Regions from separate parts of the Homo sapiens genome. Here regions 1 and 2 are each linked to region 3. The links are contacts of gene promoters, found by promoter capture Hi-C in human tissues and cell types (Jung and others, 2019). All regions are on one chromosome and are shown on one strand. The core of a region is centred on a gene start or on the middle of the fragment in contact, and the rest is flanking DNA. Distances in the headings are between cores, read along the strand shown. Region 1 holds the start of ANKRD11 (ankyrin repeat domain containing 11). Region 2 holds the start of APRT (adenine phosphoribosyltransferase). Region 3 overlaps ACSF3 (acyl-CoA synthetase family member 3).

Region 1 (3,655 bases), core at 681-3,180, 390 kb before region 3:
GCGAGCATGACGGCTTAGGTTGATGTTTTTCAAATTTTCCCAATGATGAGTATTGTAAGGGACCAAAATAAAAAAATGCCAATGCCTAGTCCCCTCTCATCTAGAATAATTCCATAGGTGATGATGGGGTCCAGGACTCTGAATTTCGTCAATTTTACCAAATACTTCGTCCAGTGAGGCAAATATGGAAACACTTGGATCACCTCTTCGTGAACGCACATCAGCGCATACGCCGGCTGTTTTTATCAGGCGCTCACCCCTCATCCAATGGCGTGACTAGTTGTGGGTGGAGCCCGAAATCTGGCTGCCTAGAGAAGGCTGAAGGTCCAGTTATAGCATAACTAATGTTTCCCCAGAGCTCACATACGTGCCAAGCACCGTGCTACAGCCTCCACAGCCCCTTCATTTAATCTTCCCGATGGGCCTATGAAATAGGTGCTCCTGGCCCGCACCGTGGCTCATGCCTCTAATCCCAGCACTTTGGGAAGCTGAGGAGGGAGGGTCGCTTGAGTCCAGGATTTCAAGACCAGCCTGGGAAACACACAGAGAGCCTATCTCTACGAAAATTTAAAAAATTAGCCGGGTGTGGTGATGCCTGACTGTGGTCCCACCTACTTAGTAGGCTAAGGTGGGAGGATCCTCTGAGCCCGGGAAGCTGAGGCTGCAGTTAGCACTGCACTCCAGCATGGGCGACAGAGTGAGACCCTGACTCAAAAAAAAAAAAAAAAAAGAATAGGTGCTACTTGTAGTTCCCATTTTACCCACCAAGAAACTGAAGATCTGAGAGACAAAGCCTACAGGGTGACCGCTAGTCACTGGTAGGGCTGGGATTTGAACAGGGGCGGTTTAACAACTGATCTCTCGACCATAATGCGTGTTGCCCAAGAAAAAAGACCGTCCTCACGGTCCTATCCACTCCGGACTTTGCAATTCCGTTATTTCGTAAATTGAGGCCTATAAATAGTTTGCTTACCCGTTGTCTTAGTCCCCAGTAACATGCAGAACTAAAGAAGAAACTGAAGGAGCACCGATTTTGTTCACCTTGCTTTTTGGTTTAGTTCTGGAGGAGAACACAGGTGCACTTAGAACAGGATCCACACTTACCAGAGGCTTGATTCATTTTAGCTGCAAAGAAAACCAGTCCTCGTCTACCTTTTTCGCGTGTTGGAGAACTAACTAGCAAGGCAGGGAATGCGGTTCGTGGGCGCTTGGCCTCCTCAAGCGGCTCAGGCTCTCAGAGCGCGAGGCCCAGGGGCTCTGGAGCCGCGGCCGCGACGCGCCCGAGGGCCGTTCTCTTCGACGGCAGAGCAAGAGTCACCGCGCGGGAGCCCCGAGCGACCGCCCCGCTGCCCCGGTACCCTCCCCTCGCAGCCGCCCAGAGCTCTTCATGCCCCGTGACGCCCGTTAGGGCAGCGCGGCCGGAGGCCGGGCCGGACGTGGCCCGAGATGTCCGGGGGCAGGCAGAAGACCACGGGCACGCGACAGGCAACCGCCGCCTCGGCTCTAGAGGTGGACGTTTTGTCTCCCTGCGCTTCAATACCAGATTTTGTTTCCAGACGACATCCCTGTTGCTTCCGGCACTTGGAAAGACCAATCGTCAGGCCCGAGAATGCAAGACCCACCCTCCTTTGCGACGGAGGCAGCCAATCCAGTTGCTCGCTACTTCCAGTGTCGCATGCGCCCTTACGCAGGACCCTGCCCAATCGTTACCGGGACGTCCTCCTAGTCCCGCCTCCGGACCGCCAGAGAGGCTGTCAATCCCGCCTCTCTCCTTCACTCCATTAGCGCACTAACTCACGGCGCTGTGACGTGCACAGCCCCTGCGGCCGGCCGGGGCGGGCCAATGGCGGTGGCGGATACGGCGGGCCAATGGGCGGGAGCGTCTCATGCGGCCGGCTCCCGCCGCAGCCGCCGCTGGGTCCTGGAGCCAGAGGCCGCCCTGAGACGGTGCGCGATGGACCGAGGGCCCCAGCCGGGGAGGCGCCGCCGCCGAGCCCGCGGCCAGACGCCCCATCAGTAGCGTCCGCACCGGGAGCCGCGGCTCTCGCCCGAGCCGTGGGCGCGCCCGAGGGGCGGGCTCGCCTCCCGCCGTCCCTCGCAGCTCTGCCGGGCCCGAGCCCGCGCCGCCGCCGCCGCCGCCTTGCCGCTCGGGCCGCGCGGCCCGGGAAACGCGGCCGCGGGCTGCATGGGCAGCGCCCGCGCCCCGCCGCTGAGCCGTCGCGGAGCCGCGCAGCCCTCGGAGCACGGTGAGAGGCGCCGCTGGTCTGGGGGCGGTGGTCGGGGCGGGCACGGGGCATTCGCGCGGCCTTGCGGCCTGCAGGCCTTCCCCGGCGACGGAGCTGCGCCGCGGGCCTCCGGGCGGGCCTGGGGGGTCGGGGCCGGGTGGGCGGGGGTCTTTGGGGGCCCGGGGCGATCGTGAGGGACCAATAATGGGTCCCGGAGCGGGCCTACGGGTCCGGGTTCGGGGCAGCCGGGGGTCTTTGGGGGCCCGGGGTGGCCGTGAGGGGCCCATAGGGGGCTCCGGGGGGGGCCTGGGAGGTCGGCGGAGCTTGGGTCGGCCGTAAGGGGCGGACGGGGGCTCCGGGCGGGCCTGGGTGGCCGGGGGCCCGCGGCGGCTCTGAGGGGCCGATTGGGGGCTCCGGGGCGGGCCTGGGGGCCGTGGGGGCCCGGGGCGGCCGTGAGAGGCGGACAGGGGGCTCCGGGGCGGGCCTCGGGGGCTCGGAGCGGCCGTGAGGGGCGGACGGGGGGCTTCGGGGCGGGCCTGCAGGTCTTGGGGACCTGAGGCTGCCGGGAGGGGCTGCCAGGGGGCGCTGGCCGGGCGCCGGGTTCTGCGGAGCTGGGGCGCCGACCTCTGACCCGCGAGAGGGGCGCCTTCGCCGTGCTGGTCGTAGTTGTTATTCTCAGCGTCCCTATTATTATCGCTGTTTTGAAATGAGAGCAGGCGGCTCTCGGGCTCCGAGCCGGAGGGGGAGGGCGAACTGGGGACCTGGGGGCGTCGGGGTTGCAGGAGGCGCGCGTAGGCCGAGGAGGGGCAGGAATGCGGGCAGCCGTGTGGGGGGTGTTAGGGGGAGGGTAGGCGGGCGGGTGTGGGGGGTGGCTGGGAGGAAAGCGGTGGCGGTGGCGGCTGCAACAGCAGCCCTTGGCCTCAAGGAACAATGTGAGACGTTGCCTGAAATGTTAATTTCCGTTCCTCATTTCATCATCCCCTGGCAGGGCGGTAGCTGTGTGTGTGGTGTATGTGTGTGCGCGCGCGCGCGCGCGCGCGTGTGTGTGTGTGTGTAGGGTTGGCCCTGCCACATTGATTCAGTCCCCTCTCAAAGAGGGATTGTACTGTTAACTCTTGTGTTTGTGTTATTTGGGAAGGTTGGTCGGGGGGAGTCTTGATTTTTCTCGAGGCTTGCTCTTTTCCTGGTGCCCCATTAAGATTTTCTGCTTCTGTTGTGTTTTTGGAAGGTTAGTGTTATATATCAGCTTCCAAGAAGTTTTGGAAGAGGCTTGGGAAGATGAAGCTGGTCTAACAGCTCCCTATGCTTTGAAACTGTTTTCCTTCTATGTAACATGCTTAGGATTCATCGTTTTTGTAGATTATGAGTAGTTTTGTATCCTTTTGCAAGAACAGGGTTTTATGGTAGAGAAATTAGATTTCAGGCTTTCT
Region 2 (3,216 bases), core at 717-3,216, 290 kb after region 3:
CAGGGGAGCCCCAGAGGGATGACTTCCAGTTCCGTCTGTCCTTTGTCCACAAGGAATTTCCCTGGACGCTAATTATGAGGGAGGCGTGTAGCTTCTTATCATTGTAACTATGTTATTTAGAAATAAAACGGGAGGCAGGTTTGCCTAATTCCCAGCTTGATTTTTCTCTTGGCTGAGTGATTTTGGGGTCCGGAGATTTATTTTCCTTTCACACCTTCTCAGCAGCTGCCAAGAATCAGGTGCCCAGCTCCCGCTGCCTCCCGGCCGGCCTCCTCCAGAGGCCAGCGCCACATTGGTTGTTGAAGGGCAGGACTCGGGGCTCCTTGCTGTTCCCACGCCAGCCCAACAGCCCGGGTTGAAGGAAGCCACAGGGCCAATTCTGTGTTGAACCCTCCCCAGGCCCCTCCTCCAGTACCCCCCCACCCCACGCCTTCCCAGGCCCCCCTCGGGCCATCTGGGAGACAGAATCAGGAACAAGGAAGGGGAAGGCGGAGGCCTCCTGGGCTGGACGTGGACGGCTGAAGTGTAGCTCACACACTTGGACCGGTGGGGCCGGCTCATGTGGCAGCTTCCCCGGGGACGTGAGGATGTCAGGGTCCTCCATTTCCACCTTCCCTAGGGGTCTGGAGCCCAGGCCCCAGGCCTTGCCAGCCCTGACCACCGCACACTGCGAGGCAGCCGCCCCTACCACGCCCCTTGGCATCAGACGATGGGTCCCCCACCCGCCCTGGAACCGGGGCCCCAGCAGCCGCATGCAGCCTCCGGCCTCCCCCTCCGAAGGCTCCTGGGGGCTGCCTTCCACTGAGTGGGTTTTCCCTTCTGCAGTAACTGCCAGGCCAAAGCTGAATTGTAAAAGTTGCGAAATGATGGGCCGGGCGCGGTGGCTCACGCCTGTAATCCCGGCACTTTGGGAGGCCGAAGCGGGCAGATCACGGGGTCAGGAGATCGAGACCATCCTGGCTAACACAGTGAAACTGCGTCTCTACTAAAAATACAAAAAATTAGCAGGGCGTGGTGGCGGGCTCCTGTAGTCCCAGCTACTCGGGAGGCTGAGGCGGGAGAATGGCCGGAACCCAGGAGGTGGAGCTTGCAGTGAGCCCAGATGGCGCCACTGTGCTCCATCCTGGGCGACAGAGCGAGAGTCCTTCTCAAAAAAAAGTTGCGAAATGAAGAAAAGTCTTGGAATAGAGCACAAGGCATTTTAGCTCTGGGGATTTTCTTGAAAGGAAATTGTGTTTGGGGGGAGTTATGCCTCACACAACCCCCTGGGTACCAGTCCTCGGGCGGCCAGGGGGTTCACAGCTCCCCACCCCAAGGCTAAGGGGTCACCTGGCCTCTGCAGGCGGACAGAAGGGCTTCTGCCCTCGCGGATGCGCGCCCTGGCCTGGCCACACCTTCCGGCCTCCCTCCCCCGGGTCCGGGCGGGGAAGAGCCGCCTCAACGGCAGGGCCCATCCGCGAGAGGCCAGCGCCCCCGGCCGGTCCAGCCCAGGCCCGCCGCCTCCGCCCTGGGCTGCTCCCTCCGGGCCCTGCACCGCCCTCCTGCTACTTGGACCGCTTCCTCACGCCCTTCTCCACCCCGCGCGCCAGCCTCCCGCGCGCAGCGTGGGGATCTCGGCCAATAAAGGAGAAAGGGCGCGGCCCGTACGCGCGCCAGGTGCGTGGGCGAGACCAGCTCACGCCCCTCCTCCAGCCGCCAAGGCCCCGGCCCACAGCTGCCTGGCTGCAGTCAGAAGCGTAGCCCGAGACAAGGAAGGGCGCCTTGACTCGCACTTTTGTCCGGTTCGAACGTTCTGCTCAGTGGTGCGTGGAATGCGAGCGCGTCTTAAAATCGATGGCGCCTAGGAGTCCATGAAATACGGTACAGGCTTCCGGCGACGGATGCCCCGCCCCTCACCCACGCTCCGCCCTCCGGGGATGCCCCACCCCTCGTGGCGGTCCCGCCCGTCCCCGCGCAGGCGCGCTCGGGCTGCCGCTGGCTCTTCGCACGCGGCCATGGCCGACTCCGAGCTGCAGCTGGTTGAGCAGCGGATCCGCAGCTTCCCCGACTTCCCCACCCCAGGCGTGGTATTCAGGTGCACGCACAGGCCGCCCTCGTGGCGCCCCGACCTGCGGGCCTACGGATGGGAGCGCGTGGCCCGCGACCTCCGGGCGGGCGGGGCGGGAACCCTCGTCTTTCGCCCCCGGGGCCCTGCCCTCCTTCGGCCCCGGCGTCACCAGGCCTGTCCTTGGGTCCAGGGACATCTCGCCCGTCCTGAAGGACCCCGCCTCCTTCCGCGCCGCCATCGGCCTCCTGGCGCGACACCTGAAGGCGACCCACGGGGGCCGCATCGACTACATCGCAGGCGAGTGCCCAGTGGCCGCATCTAGGGCGCTTCCGCCTCTGCGCGCGCCGAGGGCAGCACGTGGGCTCTGCGCGTCTGCTTGGGGGAGGGCCTTTGGGGTGCTTCAGGGGGCGCCGGGACGGGCGCCGTGCTTGGGTCGCCCGGGAAGGGTTGTGAGATTGAGCCCCCGAGGCCGCCGCGCTGTGCAGGCGTCCTTCCCGCAGGTTCCGGGTCCCCAGCCCAGGACAGGCGTGACCGAGTTGCCGGGTCAGTTGGTCTCCCTGGAGTGCCCAAGCTGAATCCACAGGGCCCAGCTGCCTTGCTTCTTGTTCCTTCTGCGAGCTGGTATTGAGCGCCTGCCACGAGCCAGGCCTTCCCTGGTGAAGATCACGGAATGCCCACCCAGGGAAGGGAGGCCTGGAGGCCTCCGGGAGAGCCCAAGAGGTGGCCCAGGGAGAACAGAGTGTTCCTGGCCGTCTTGCCTCTCCTAGGGTGTGACAGCCCACTCCCTGGACACTGCCCTGAGGAAAGCGCCAGCTCTTGCTGGAGCCACAACACTGCCAGAGCTCCCTTCTCACCTCCTGCAGGAAGCCCTCCCTGACCTCCTGCCAGGCCGGGGCAGGGTTTCCCTGAGCGTCCCCCAACCATCACAGCTCAGGCCACCTCGAGAGACTCCCTTTTTAGACAGAAGCCCTGGTGCAGAGCTGCCTTTGAGAGTAAGCTGAGGCCTGTCAGGTTTCTACCAGCCCAGTTACAGATGGGCTGCTCAGCTCAGAGAGAGGGGTGGTGACTCCCCTAGGAACACACAGCTAAGAAGTGGTCCCTTAAAAGACAGACCCAGGTCTGCACTCTGACCTGGAAGCAGCTCCGGGTAGGTGATGGGTAACATTCCT
Region 3 (3,267 bases), core at 625-3,124:
GCAGGAGAAGCAGAGGGAAGGTGGGCAGGGCTGACTGCTTGCAGGGACCCCTTCCTGGCGAAATTCACACCTGACTAGGGTTTGGGTCCTGAGCTCCCGGTCAGAGGCCTCAGAGCTCCACACAGCCTTCGATGGGGCCAGAAAGACTTCAGACAGGAAGAGTCCTGGCAAGAGCGGTGAGTGTGGGGCCGGCCACTGGTGGCTGCTGTGCTCTGGGCTTTAGGGCTGTGCCTCTGCTGGCCGGGACGTCTGCCCTGCAGAACAACCCCGCACAGACCAAGAGCCCAGTCCCAGGCATCTGGCCTCAGAGATGGGCTCCTCTGTGCTGAGAACCATCATGATACGATCCAAATTCTAAGGGCTTTTCCATACATTCACGTGTTAAACTTTTTTTCCTGTGAATAAAAGGCATATTCATTATACGGGCAGAGGCTGGTAAACGTCCATGGCCTCACCGGAGGGCTCTGCTTCACCACACCTGTGACATACGCACACCGTGTCCTTCCTGTGGGCTCAAGGCCTGCCCCTCATGCCCTCTGCAGCCTGGTGAGTGACTCTTGCCTGCAGTCAGCTAGAATGCACACAGGGCCACAGCAACTCCTAAAAGCCACCGCCATCCCCAACTGACAGGCGAGGCCCGATGCTGTGCACAGGGTCCCGCCTCGAGCCCAGGTCCTTTCCCTCCAAAGCAGCATCCCTGATCTGCCTGGAGACAGCCCTGCACAGGCAAGGCTGCGCGCAGCAGCTCGGCGATGACTGCTCCCACCCCAGCGCTCTGTGTGACCAGCACCGCGTCCTTCCCTCCCTGCCTGCTCCAAGGGAGACGCTACAGAGGAAGCCATGCAGAGAGGGGAGACAGAGACTCCACAGCAGCCCTTCAGCTGGGCCAATACTCCAAAGTAACCCTCCGCAGCAAGCAGCTCTCCAGCTGGGCCAGTACTCTGGAGTAACCGAGGGCTGCCACAGTGGCCACATCATAGCTCAAAGGGTCACGCCCTACGCCCTACACCCCGAATGTGTCACCTCTCGCAGTGGTGGGAACTGCAGGTGGATGAAGCGAAGGACCTCAAGATGGGAGATGATCTTGGAATATCCGCATAGGCTGCACAAAGGGAAGCCGAGGGAGCCCTGACTACGGAGAGAAGGCCGTGTGCCTGCAGAAGCAGAGCTGGACGTGAAGCAGCTGGAGCCAAGGGCACAGGCGGCCTCCAGAGCTGCAAGAGGCAGGAACGGACTTTGCCCTGGAGCCTCCTGACGGAGCAGCCCTACCACACCCAGCATCAGCTCCGCAAGACTCGTCTCAGAATCCTGGCCTCCAAGCATGTAAGAACAAACTCGCATTATTTTAAACCAAGCGCGTGAGCATTCGCCGCAGCCGCAGGAGCTCGCGGGCAGCAGGGCCTGTACAGTCACCTCCGCTCATCCAGTCTCACTATTCACGGTTTCAATGACGCGTGGCCCACTGCAGTCTCACAACAGACGAGCACAGTACCGGAAGGTATTTTGAAGAGAGAGAGCACTTTCACATAACTTGATTACAGTACATGGTTATAACTGTTCTGTTATTGTTAACCTCTTACTGTGCCTAACTTATAAATTAAGCTTTATCATAGGTACGTATGTATAGCAAAAAGCATCGTAGGTACAGGGTTCCATGCTACCCAGGGTCTCGGCATTGGCACGTCCCCTGTGGATAGGGGCGACTGCACACCAGGAAAAGATGCCTAGTCTGAGGGCGCGGCCGAGAGCCCTGACCCCAACCAGCGAAAGGCGCTTAGGCTGAGGGCGCGGCTGAGAGCCCTGGCCCCGACAGGGGAAAGGCGCCTAGTCTGAGGGTGCAACCGAGAGCCCTGACCCCAACTCACCTGCTGAGGGCTGAACTCAGGCATCATCACACAGGTGGCTCCCACCCAGAGAGGACAGAGCAGCGCGTTGACCACACCATGGACGTGGTGCAGCGGGAGCACGTGGAGGATCACGTCGTCTTTGGTCCATGCCCACTTGTGGACCAGCCCGGTCACCTGCAGGGGACGAGAGCACAGCTGAGAGCAAGAGCAAGACTGTGGCCCGCAACAGCACACACAGACCTCGGGCTCACGGAAAGGAGCTCTGGGCCTCCCCACTGAGGAAGGGGAAGGAGAAGGCTGGCTCTTTGTTGCTCCCCTTTAGCAGCCTCTCAAGATGACGACAAAACCACAGCAGATCTGCTGGGTCACTCACTTACCCTGGGGACAGAGGACAGCGCCACACACAGCCAGAGGCTTTAGGGAATTTAGAAGGTCGGGGAGTGGCTCTGCAGACACCAGGTCGACAGAGCTCCGCCCCTGCCCAAGCCTGGGACTCAGGGACCCAGCGCCATTCAGGCTGGAATCGACTCCCAGCCCAACCACTGGCTCAGGTGACAGCACTGCCCACACAGAGCTCTGCCGATTCGTGAATTATCGTCACCTGCTCAGCCGGGACAGAACCCAGGCCAGGCTCCAGAGCACACCCTCAGCTCTTACTGAGAAGCAGCGTGAGGCACGGCCCACTGAATCCTCTGTCCAATCTCACGGAGGACACTGCCTGCTGCCTGCACAGGCTCCAGGGAGAAGCACATGTGCATGTCACTCCCCTCAGCAAGGACAGAGGAGTCCAGAGCCCGTCCCTCCCGACAGGCGCGCCGCTTCCAGGAGTGACGGCGCAGGCCACCCAGGGCCCAGCCTGCTGTGTGCTCATGGCGCCTCGTCAGCCCACGACTCCGTGGGGTACACTTCCTGCCTTCCCCTTCCTGGCTTTTGGTTTTCATTTTTACTTGATTGCTTCAAGTGCATAGGAGACGTTATGACACTGTACAAATGCCAGGTAAGTGATGTGGTTGGAGAGTTCTGTGAAGATGTGACTGAGGTCACAGGACACACAAAAAACGAGTAAGACCCGGGTGTATGTGGGGTCCTGACCACGCATCCTAACACGTGGCTGGCCTCCGAAAAGCCCCTCAGCATCACAGGCAGTGAGTGGTCCCTTCTGACCTCATGCCGCATGGTCCTGGCAGGGTCACTCGGCGGCCCCTCAATCCCTCTACACCTGGACGCTCCCAGAGCCGTCCTGCGTGGCCAGTGAGGCCAGCGGCCACACCCCGAGGGCCTGCGTCCCTGTATCTCACACGGGTCTGCAGGATGGTGACAACTGTGAATGACTCCACAGAAAAGCGAATGAAAAGATGTGCTTCTGGCCCGGAGCCCACCCGGAGTGCTGTGCGGTCACCGAAACCATCACGGCGCCAGG

Evidence for each region. The method cuts DNA at HindIII sites, captures the fragments that hold promoters and counts their contacts. A contact is called where the count stands out against the background at its distance.
Region 1: the fragment with the promoter of ANKRD11 here is called in contact with a fragment that was not itself captured in region 3 in 2 of the 25 tissues and cell types used here (hippocampus and spleen).
Region 2: a contact is called between the fragment with the promoter of APRT here and a fragment that was not itself captured in region 3, in 2 of the 25 tissues and cell types used here (H1 embryonic stem cells and lymphoblastoid cells).

The regions. Positions count from the first base shown.
Region 1 is chr16:89,488,836-89,492,490 of GRCh38, reverse strand. ANKRD11 (ankyrin repeat domain containing 11) reads left to right here and starts at 1,930. Exons shown (of 13, transcript NM_013275.6): 1 at 1,930-2,246. LOC101930112 (a long non-coding RNA gene) reads right to left here and starts at 1,521. Exons shown (of 2, transcript XR_933895.4): 1 at 1,105-1,521. LOC101927863 (a long non-coding RNA gene) reads left to right here. Exons shown (of 5, transcript NR_188547.1): 5 at 1-88. RefSeq lists silencers at 1,211-1,260, 1,381-1,470, 1,671-2,150, 2,725-2,774, 2,855-2,964 and 1 more and enhancers at 2,356-2,870, 2,871-3,384. The HindIII fragment of the contact is 15,043 bases long and covers 1-3,655 here.
Region 2 is chr16:88,810,678-88,813,893 of GRCh38, reverse strand. APRT (adenine phosphoribosyltransferase) reads left to right here and starts at 1,966. Exons shown (of 5, transcript NM_000485.3): 1 at 1,966-2,074; 2 at 2,238-2,344. The coding sequence starts at 1,995. GALNS (galactosamine (N-acetyl)-6-sulfatase) reads left to right here. Exons shown (of 14, transcript NM_000512.5): 14 at 1-160. RefSeq lists enhancers at 223-906, 907-1,591, 3,097-3,216 and silencers at 1,304-1,563, 1,814-2,213. The HindIII fragment of the contact is 27,772 bases long and covers 1-3,216 here.
Region 3 is chr16:89,101,358-89,104,624 of GRCh38, reverse strand. It overlaps ACSF3 (acyl-CoA synthetase family member 3), which reads right to left. Exons shown (of 11, transcript NM_001243279.3): 4 at 1,866-2,021. Among named protein-coding and RNA genes, the nearest start is that of ACSF3, 9.1 kb to the right of the region's middle. The HindIII fragment of the contact is 6,924 bases long and covers 1-3,267 here.